3 separate regions of the Homo sapiens genome follow, and all the other regions are linked to region 1. Evidence: promoter capture Hi-C in 16 types of primary human blood cells and fetal thymus (Javierre and others, 2016). All regions are on one chromosome and are shown on one strand. Each heading gives the region's core, a stretch centred on a gene start or on the middle of the fragment in contact. The rest is flanking DNA. Distances are from core to core; before and after follow the strand shown.

The links. Contacts are between HindIII fragments. The CHiCAGO score rates a contact against its expected background, and 5 or more counts as called.
Region 2: a contact is called between a fragment that was not itself captured here and the fragment with the promoter of TNRC6B-DT in region 1, in 4 of 17 cell types (activated CD4 T cells, megakaryocytes, endothelial precursors and 1 more). The highest score is 7.0, in activated CD4 T cells.
Region 3: a contact is called between a fragment that was not itself captured here and the fragment with the promoter of TNRC6B-DT in region 1, in 1 of 17 cell types (activated CD4 T cells). The highest score is 5.5, in activated CD4 T cells.

Annotation. Positions count from the first base shown.
Region 1 is chr22:40,042,905-40,046,218 of GRCh38, reverse strand. TNRC6B-DT (TNRC6B divergent transcript) reads left to right here and starts at 1,689. Exons shown (of 1, transcript NR_163486.1): 1 at 1,689-3,089. It overlaps FAM83F (family with sequence similarity 83 member F), which reads right to left. Exons shown (of 5, transcript NM_138435.4): 5 at 2,685-3,314. It also overlaps a transcript of TNRC6B not described here. RefSeq lists silencers at 636-705, 716-935 and enhancers at 1,236-1,355, 1,666-1,965, 2,047-2,694. The HindIII fragment of the contact is 12,286 bases long and covers 1-3,314 here.
Region 2 is chr22:40,257,966-40,261,279 of GRCh38, reverse strand. All of the region lies in intron 3 of TNRC6B (trinucleotide repeat containing adaptor 6B), which reads right to left. LOC124905121 (a long non-coding RNA gene) reads left to right here. Exons shown (of 2, transcript XR_007068107.1): 2 at 912-2,238. Among named protein-coding and RNA genes, the nearest start is that of TNRC6B, 82 kb to the right of the region's middle. The HindIII fragment of the contact is 2,510 bases long and covers 311-2,820 here.
Region 3 is chr22:40,238,764-40,242,077 of GRCh38, reverse strand. All of the region lies in intron 1 of TNRC6B (trinucleotide repeat containing adaptor 6B), which reads right to left. Among named protein-coding and RNA genes, the nearest start is that of TNRC6B, 62 kb to the right of the region's middle. The HindIII fragment of the contact is 6,227 bases long and covers 1-3,314 here.

The DNA of each region.
Region 1 (3,314 bases), core at 440-2,939:
GATTCTCCAAATCAAGAGAAACCTTATACTACTGAAATCTCCCACAGCGAAGAGAGAAGTAACCTCTATTAGTAAACTTTCACAAAATGCTAATGTCTATCATTTCTACACACTTTATATATATACTTAACTGTTGGTGGGGGCACTAATGTTTCATTCACTGATTCTTGGCTTGTTTTATTCACTATGAAGAAATATCTTTGACCAATTTTGTATAATTTTGCTTAAATTATAATACAAATGACCAACTTGAAATTCACCATCCTCTCGTTCAATCTCTAGCACTGATGCTAAAAAGTAATAAAACAGCCAAAACACATGAGAAAGCACGAACTTAAAGTCCCAGGCTGGTAACCTGAATTCCAAAGAATTCAGAATAAGCTGGTCCTTAAGGCGCTTGACTAGAGGTGACCGTTACTGGACGTCTTTAACCACTACAGCGTGTCTCGCTGGATCGGATGTCCAGCCTCTACAGCCGAATAAACCGGTAGTCTGGAACTGAAGGGCACCGGACCACGGGAAGGTGTAAAAACACTCTCCGTGCCCCTCGTTTCCTTGTCCAGAGTCTGAGCCGCCTCCCCAAGTGGCCGCACACGCAGGGCCCTGGCGAGGGGTGTGGAACGCATTCACCTTGTCACGCAGGTCCTGCACACAGGCCGGGACGCTGCGCAGGGACCCGAGGATCCGAGGCCTGACGCCTCCCTCTGCCACCGCCAGCCAGGGGCGGACGCGCCTCCGCGGGCCGGGAAGGTGTCCCCGCGCCGAGGCCCCCCGGAGACGGGAAGCGAACTCGACGGCCGGGCCAGCCCACCCGGAAGCCCTCCCCCAGCTCACACCTGCTGGCGCGTGACGCCCGGAGCCGCGCGCGCGCCCGCCAGTGCCTGCCCGGCCGTTCGGGGCGCCCCGGCCCGCGCGCCGGACGTCGCCCCGAGTCCCTCCCCGCCCCTCGACTCAAATCTCGGCGGCGCCCGCTCCCGCGGAGCGCGCGCTCAGCGCCGCCGGCCGCACCAGCCCCGCGCGCGCTCACGCCCCCTCCCCGGCCCGCTCCCCGCCCCACGCGCGCTCCCTCGCGAGGACACGCACACGCCGCGCCTCCGCTCACCGCCCCGGGCCGCGCCGCGCGCCCCCGGGGGCGCCCTCGCCGACCCCCGGCCGCCCCGCTCCGTCCCGGCGGGGCGCGGGGGAGGGGAAGGACGGCGCGGCCGCCGCACCTCACTCACCGCCGAGCCGTGCCGGCTCCGAGTGCGCGGCGTTTCGCTGTGAGGCGAGGCGCGCAGTCTCCGCTTCTCCGCAGACTATGGAGGCGACGTCGTAGGGGGGACTGAGGGGCGCAGGGGTCACTCCCTCCCGTTTCGCCTTGCAGCAGCACGGGGACCCCAAAAACTAAAAACAAAATAAACAAACTTTCCCCTCCGCATCCCTCCCCCAAAACCACAACACAAACACTCGGGGGCCCGCCCAGAGCCCCACTCCATTGGCCGCAGGGAGGATGCTTCCGGCTCTCACTGGCTGGCTTTTGTGCCCGTCAAGCTGTCGTTCCGCCCCTCCAATTCCTCGTTGCTGCCTTCGCCCCTCATTGGTTAAGTGCTTCCCGTTTAACGAGCTAGGATTGGCTGAGCTGCCTGAGCCAATCATGTGGGGACACACCCCCTCAGCATCCCAGAGGCCGCTTCCTCGGTCGAGGACCCAGAGAGACTCAGGGGAAATTAGAGCATGATGGCGGCCGAGGTCGCTTGGCGCAACCATCGTCTTTTTTCTTTATTTTTAGCTCATTAGTGCCTTGCCTCGGCGCTGTTTCCCTAAGCTCCTCTCTCCAACCAGTACTGCCCTATAACGGAATCCATACGTGCCGGCTCCTTGATTTATCCCCTCCGAAGTGCTGAGTGTGGGCTGGTTGTGCGTCATTGGACTGTCAGGATGTCACTCCCCAGTCAAATCTTCAAGCTATTGGTGGAACAGCAAGAAAGCCCGTCCATCAACAAGGGCTAATACCATTGGTTTGACTCCACTGTGTTATTTCCTGGCACCTTATTGGGCAAATAGGTGCGTCAGATCCGGATTCGCTCTGCTACGGTTAATTGTTTACTGGGGATTTGGGGTCAACTCTGGTTGTTTGGCCAGTAGTTGACGATAATAGTGACTCCCTTGCCTATTTTGTGCCAAGTATTGGGCTGCTTTCTTCACAAACATTATCTGGTTAAACCTGGGAGTAATGCAGTATCCAGTTTTTATAGATGGGAAATTAAGGCTGGCGAGAGCTTAGAAAACTTGCCCAAGGTCATCCAGATACAGAGTCGTTGGTGGGCCTGGCATCTGGTCCTGGGTCAAACTGCAGAGACTTCACTCTTTTTATTATGCTTTAGTGCCTCCACCTTAGACGATGTACTTGTCAGCCAACCTAGCATCTTAAAAACGTTTCATTTGGAACTCAAAGTCTTCAGTCAGTTTCTAGAAGTGACTTTGTTGGGGACTTACTATGGAAAGGTTGTCATTGCCTCCACCACATCTTCCTCCCCAGGACCCATTCCTCTCCCCTTTAAGGTAGACATTTCTGCCTCCTTTTATGCGAAGCCTAGGCACCACTCGCAACCCCTGACCAACCATCTACAACTCATTCTTTGGAGAGAGTCCTCAAGAGCTGGAAAACTAGGAGAAATCAAGTCTAAAGAGAGAGACAGAATAAATCGTCTTAGAAATGAATAATTTATTGCATGCAAAGAGAACAGCCCTTCAGCTCCTGGAAATCTTCCAGGATAGTTGATGCTGAGCAAGACGTGTGCTCCTGGCTGGTGGCCACTGGGTTCTTTCCCTATAGCAGCATTCATCGAAGTGAATCCAACATTTCAGCCAGAGGAGGGCAGGACGCTTAGGACCCATTGCCAGTGAGCTTTTGCGACCGAAATGATCTCCAGGAGCACAACGCTGGACTCTAGCCCACATTCCATCTTGGGTAATTAACATTTTACCGTCCCAAATCCCCATCCCCTGTAGCTTCAGTGGGATCACCGCCCTTGTTTCACTTCCTGATCCAAGCTGTTGTGTAACCTCCTTGGCACTGCTTTAATAATAAAACAACCATTGTAACATAGTAACAATGCTCAACACTTAGAGCCTTTCAGCAAATGAAGCCAAGGTATTTCATAAACGTCAATTAAGAGTAAGTGGCATGTATTCCTAGGGCAACTGCAAGAAGGACAGAAGAAAGATCGTGCGTCAAATTCTAATATAGGTTGTAAGAACGTGAGTCCTTAAAATTGTATGCACATACCCCATATTAGCCTTCCAGTATGGGGATTCTGAACTCAAAAACACAA
Region 2 (3,314 bases), core at 316-2,815, 220 kb before region 1:
AGATGAGGTCTTGCTGTATAACTCGGGCTGGAGTGCAGTGATCTTGGCTTGCTGCAACTTCTACCTCCAGGGCTCAAGTGATCCTCCCACCTCAGCCTCTTGAGTAGCTGGGACTACAATGCATACACCACTATGCCCAACTAATTTTTTTTTCCTCCTCTAGAGACAGGGTTTTGCCATGTTGCCTACCTAGACTGGTCTCGAACTCCTGAACTCAAGCTATTTACCCACCTCGGCCTCCCAAAGTGCTGGGATTACAGGTGTGAGCCACCACACCCAGACCCTGGCTAAGATTATTTGTAAGAAAGCTTACATGGTACCAATTCTAACAAAGTAACTTCTCCTTTTACTCTACTCTCAAGGGAAACAGTTTTTCCAAATTCTCCACAATCTCTCCAGTTTGCTGAAGGTAGGATGAAGGTGGCGGCTGACAGTGACAAGAATTTAAACACAGCAAGGTCATGGAATACATTCCATTAATTAAGGCGGAGAGGGAAGCAATCAACATTCACTCCCCTAAATCAACAGTGGAATTAATTCCCTGAAGTGCTGCCTAGAAGAGTTAAATGTCCATGGCAAAGTCCTTGGGAAAGGTTTCAAGCCTCAGTCCAAGGGTCCCTTCCCTTCATCCACATTCTTAAAAGATCTACCCCTGAGTAAACTTTATTGAAGCCCCTGGCCTAGATGGGCTAAACATTCTTCCTAAGTGCTCCTGGAACACATCATCCATCTCTCTCTACCATGAAAATTCTCCATTCAAAAATCCATCTATCTCTACCACCGAAATTCTCCATCTACAAGTCCCATCTCTCTCTATCACAGAAATTCTCCATTTACAAGTCCTTCTCCCTCACCAGGCCATGACTTCCTGAGGGCAAGGACCCATCTTTCATCTTTTCTTTCTTCCTTAGGGCATGGCACAGAGTGGACTCTTACAAGAAACTCCAGGCCTAGAAAATCACAAACTCAGCTTGGTTCTGGTTTCTACAGCTACCTGGACTCAAAGACTTGCACCGCTCTCTGTGTAAATACTAGAAATGTTACAAATCTTTTTGCTTTTCTTTAAAAAAAAAAAAAAGTGTTTCTTCCCAATTCTTTAAAATAGAAATTTCAAAATGTAAATACTTTTTCTGTTTACTTTAAATCATTTGATTTTTTTAAACTTAATTTTAAAAATGGCCCGCACACAGCGTGGGAATGTCGGGGCAACCGTGAAACCGCACTCTGCCGGACCCTCTGGCTCTTCCCGTCGAACATACAGAGAAGGCTCTCTTAGATCTGTACCTCCCTCGCTGCATGCTGCCAGAAGATCACTACCCTCTCCATAAAAATCTACCTGGCAAATAGAGGCTGGAAGTCGTACAGAAATAATCATCAAGCCTGACAGTTCGGATGATTCTGAGGCCCAAATCCCTGCCTCCCAGGGTAACGTCAGGGCCAACTCTGGGGGTAGTACTGCTTTGACTGCTAAAATGATGCGGGGCCAGCATGTTGCTTGCTGAACTGGCTCCTTTATGAGAGAGATACATCATCAGAAATCAGGCGGCCCAATCTATGCCACTACTGGACATTAACATACTGTGGGTGACAGGAGAAAAGAGCAGGTGCCTGCAGCAATTTCCAGGTAACCCCATGTCTAACCTCAGCTAATCACAAGGCAGCACCAGGCCTCCCAGTAAGGGGAGGGGGAGTGGAGGTCAGAGGATCCAAAATCTGATGAGCAGAATAAATGTGTGACTTAAGAAAATAAAATTAGTCGGCCAGGCGCGATGGCTCACGCCTGTAATCCCAGCACTTTGGGAGGCCGAGGTGGGTAGATCACAGGGTCAGGAGATCGAGACCATCCTGGCCGACATTGTGAAACCTAGTCTCTACTAAAAATACAAAAATTAGCTGGGCGTGGTGGCATGCGCCTGTATTCCCAGCTACTCAGGAGGCTGAGGACGAGAATTGCTTGAACCTGGGAAGCGGGGGTTGCAGTGAGCCGAGATCGTGCCACTGCCCTCCAGCCTGGGCCACAGAGCAAGACTCTGTCTCAAAAAAAAAAGAAAAGAAAATTAGTCATTATCTAATATTCATGACCTATAACAACAGATGGATACATAACTGGTAAATGAATGAATGAAGATTATTTAATATTAATTTTCTATCTGTTACTGGAGGATTCTATAGCACAGGGCATTCGCAATCCCCTTTTATCTTATTATGAGAATAAACAAGAAGTTGGCAGAGACTGGAGAAATTCATCCCAACTGGTTTTTAGGACAGAAAGAGCTATGTTTCTGTAAGGCTGCCCTGCTATAAAGGTCAAGAATCTTCATTATAAGTTACCCAGGTCTACTACATACTTTTAACTCAATCCAGAAAAACAACAAGACATGACAGAGTGACCTGCAGGACTGAGGGCTGAACACCAGTTTGACTCACTTTAAAACATTCACAGCACTGTTTCAACTGAAGAAATTTGGTAGGTATCACGTATCATGTAAGATTCCTTGCAAAAGTTCCTCAGGGCACTTTCCCACCACATCAGAGACAGAATGGATTGTAAATGATAAAGTCATTATAAAATGGGAACACACCTCAACCACTTTCCTCCCAATACAGTGTGCTCTGGCCCAGGAGATTAGTCATTCAAACTCCAGGACATCATGTACAAATAGGTCAAAGTATAAAAAGAAAAAAACAAAACCTCCAGGAAACAGTCAGAAAACGCCCAAGACACCACCTTAGTCATAGCAAACTGTGTTTCAGCACCTGAATGAATTCTTACTCTATTTTTTAAATCACACCTTTCTGTGAATCCAAGAATGTTAAGCTTTTAAAGGCCAACCAGAATTGCCGGCACTAATTGGAGAGCAACACAGCTTTTCAGGCAGGATGTCTGATCCAAATTGACTCCCAAAGTCCAAACTTAAGACATCAGAATCAGTGTGCATCACCCATCATCATGGTCCAGAATGTTAGACGATAAAGGGCAAGAGAAGCTATCATTAAAAGTCTGAATATGTTACTTTTCAGGCTGTCTCTTTTCTGAATCTTAAGGATTTGTAAGTTGTGCAAGTTTTTCTAAAGATGAGCTGTTCAAAGTAAGTGCATAGTTTCTTATCTTCCAGAGGAAAGGTTTGTGGCTTAAACATGATCTCAGTACTATAGGGAAATAAAAACATTGTGGGGTAAAAAAAAAAAAAAAAAAAAAAAAAAAAAAGGCTGTGTATCCTATTTTCTGATTTCCATTCATTTACTTCTTTTTTTGTTTGTTTTTTGAGACTGAGTCTTGCTCTGTTGCCCAGGCTAGAGTGGAGTAGCAGGAT
Region 3 (3,314 bases), core at 521-3,020, 200 kb before region 1:
TAAATAAAACCAGAGTTCTCTGGAACAAGAGCTAATTCTGGGGGTAGCATAAGGAAAGTACAAGATGAACCTGGAATGTACATTTGCCAAGAAGCAAAAGAGTGCTCAAAGAATGATGGGATCCGTCAAATGACCACAGACGACAGTTTGAAGTGCTCCTACAAGCTAAATCTGGAACAACATCAACATCAAAATAAGTAATTATAGTAAGAGACTATAAGCCATTGTATAAAATAGGAAAACACAAGTTCATACAGAGAGAAATAAGCAAATGAATAAATTGAAATGAGGAATGGAATAGTCACATAGTTTCAAAACACCTCCCCATAAAATACTTGTCATAAAGGGTTGAGAAGAGTAATTACGTCAAGGAGAAGCCTGTCAAGATACCACCTTAATCAAGTAATCCATGTGAACATCATCAGCTATGGGACAAATTCAAACTGTGAGTTACATGACAGGATGCTGTAAGAAGAACACAGCATTGATTCTATGAGTCCTTTTAAATGTGTTTAACCTGAATACCATCAAAGGAACCATCAGACAACTCCACATTCAGAGGCATTCTACAAAATATACTGGCCTGCAATCTTCAAAAGTTTTAAGGCTGTGACAGTCAAGGAAAGATTGAGGAATTGTTCCAAATGAAAGGAGACTGCAAAGACCTAACAACCAAATGCAATGTGCGGCAAATCTCACACCTTGAATGGAGCTGAAGAGTAAGTGGTGGTCATGAATCGGTGTGTTAATTTTTTCCCTTTGATGGTTATATTGTGGTTTTACACCAGAATGTTCTTTTTGTTAGAAACAGACTATAGTATTGGTGAAAGGGCTACAGGTGACAGCATTGGATCAGCAGTTAATTCTCAAATGACTCAGGGGAAAAAGAGGCTTTTTAAAATCATACAGATTCAAACTCTGTAAGTTCGAGATTGTTTCCAAAAACAAAAGAAAATATAAACAACAAACACAAAACTATTGCTCAGGCAGTACCCCAGGTCAATTACATAGAAATCTCCAGGGATTTTCAGAAGTCCCTCCAAGTGGTTCTAACATGTAGCTAGGGTTGAGAAACTGCTCTAAATTCTTGTTTATACCTACACTTGAAAACATTATTACCTGATTTATGTCTCAAAAATCAAACCTCCCATCACCTGAGCCCAGGAAGCTGAGGCTGCAGTGAGTCATAATCATGCCACTGCACTCCAGTGTGGGCAACAGAGTGAGACCCTGTCTCCAAAACAAACAACAACAATAAAAAACCCTCCCATACAGCAACAAATGCAAATGCCAGGTGACTAGGTGGGTCCTACTTGATCATCAATTGCTTCTAAGTATGAAGGGCAAGAGAAATCATTCATATTTTCTCTCATCTCTAAATATACAGCCAGATGTAAAACTCATCACTTTCAAATTATTTAATTCATTCAACAAATTCAGTTAAGTATTTACTGAGTCTCTACTATGGCTTCCAAAGCAATACTATGGGCACCTCCAATTCCCTAACTTTGTGCCAAGAATAGTTTATAGGTGCACCCAGCTTCCAGGTACATATGGAATACAAAGCCCCTCAAACTCCTTACAGCCCAGCCTGGGACTGCTGCTAGCCCAGTCCAACCTCATCTACTTACCCCAGTGTGCTGTACTAATCTTTTCTCTGTGTGTCTTGACCTGAAAAGGTTACGAAGCATTGTCTAGGGGAGCTGGGGGTTTAATATTGCCTCTGCAGGGGACGAATGTGTGGGAGGTACTGTGCAGGCAGGCAAAAGATAAAGCAAGTGCAAACACCATAATCTAGAATAAATCCTGAATGGTAAAAAGCCAAACTACTCTTGAGAACCTCTCAGGTGAAGAGCGAATACAACAGTGTTTTCTTCTTAATTTTTTACAATAATAGTAGAGAAAAGTAGAAGTGACTTGTACCTGAATAGAAAATACCCAATATTCGGCCGGGCACAGTTGCTCATGCCTGTAATCCCAGCACTTTCGGAGGCTGAGGCGGGCAAATCATGAGGTCAGGAGTTTGAGATCAGCCTAGCCAACATGGCGAAACCCCATCTCTACTAAAAATACAAAAAAATTAGCTGGGCATGGTGGCGGGCTACCCAGCTGCTTGGGAGGCTGAGGCAGGAGAGTCATTTGAACCTGGGAGGCAGAAGTTGCAGTGAGCTGAGATCGCGCCACTGCACTCCAGCCTGGGAGACAAAGCGAGACTCGGTCTCAAAAAAAAGAAAGAAAAACAAAAAAAGAAAATACCCAATATTCACAATATTCACTTAAGCTGAGGCATAACAAGACTGCCCCGCATGCAAGTTCAGAACACCAAAAAGCAACGATGCTGAGATCCCTAGGAACCGGCTACATCCCAGAACTGAACCCTCCAATGGTCCGAGACCATGCAAAGGGAAAGCTAAGAGCTTGAAGCATCTGTAATTGGCATTCAAAGCCATTCATAGTACAGTTCTAGCTTTTACATTTTCCTCATTCTGCACGCCTGACAAAAACCATCCTCTTTAATGCCCATCACACCTTACCCTAGTGGCAAGTCCTAGCTCAATATCCACTTGCTTCAACAGCACCATCCCCAGTAACTCCAACTCTAGAGAAACTTGCCTTCTTCTGCAGACCCCACAACTATTGCCCCGTCTCTTGTTTGGCCCTCAAGGTCTCAAGGCAGATGACACCGGTACTGGCAGCATCAGAGCACCTGAAGTGACTTTCTGCGGCATGGCTGCTTTTACCAGGGTGGTAACAGGCACAGACCGGAAGGCACAGACTGACTTGGCTCTCTTCTACTAGGATGTCCAGGAACTGACTCATTCCTTTAACAAACATTTATTGTCTAATATGAGCCAGGCACTTTTCTTTTCTTTTTGAGATGGAGTCTTGCTCTGTCACCCACGCTGCAGTGCCGTGGCGCAATCTCAGCACACTGCAACCTCCGCCTCCCAGGTTCAAGTGATTCTCACGCCTCAGCCTCCTGAGTTGCTGAGATTACAGGCGCCTGCCACCACGCCCAGCTAACTTTTGTATTTTTAGTAGAGACGGGGTCTCACTATGTTGGCTGGCCTGGTCTTGAACTCCTGACCTCAAGTGATCCGCCCACCTTGGCCTCCCAAAGTGCTAGGATTACAGGCGTGAGCCACTGCGCCCAGCCGAGCCAGGCACTTTTTCTAAGCACTGGAGATCTGGCAGAAACAAAACCGAGCTTTGGCTCTCATGTGACTTACATCCCAGTGGGGGAGAAAGGCAACAAATGAACAAGATATACAACAAGATGCATGTATAAAATACACAGTTCAGGCAACAACAGT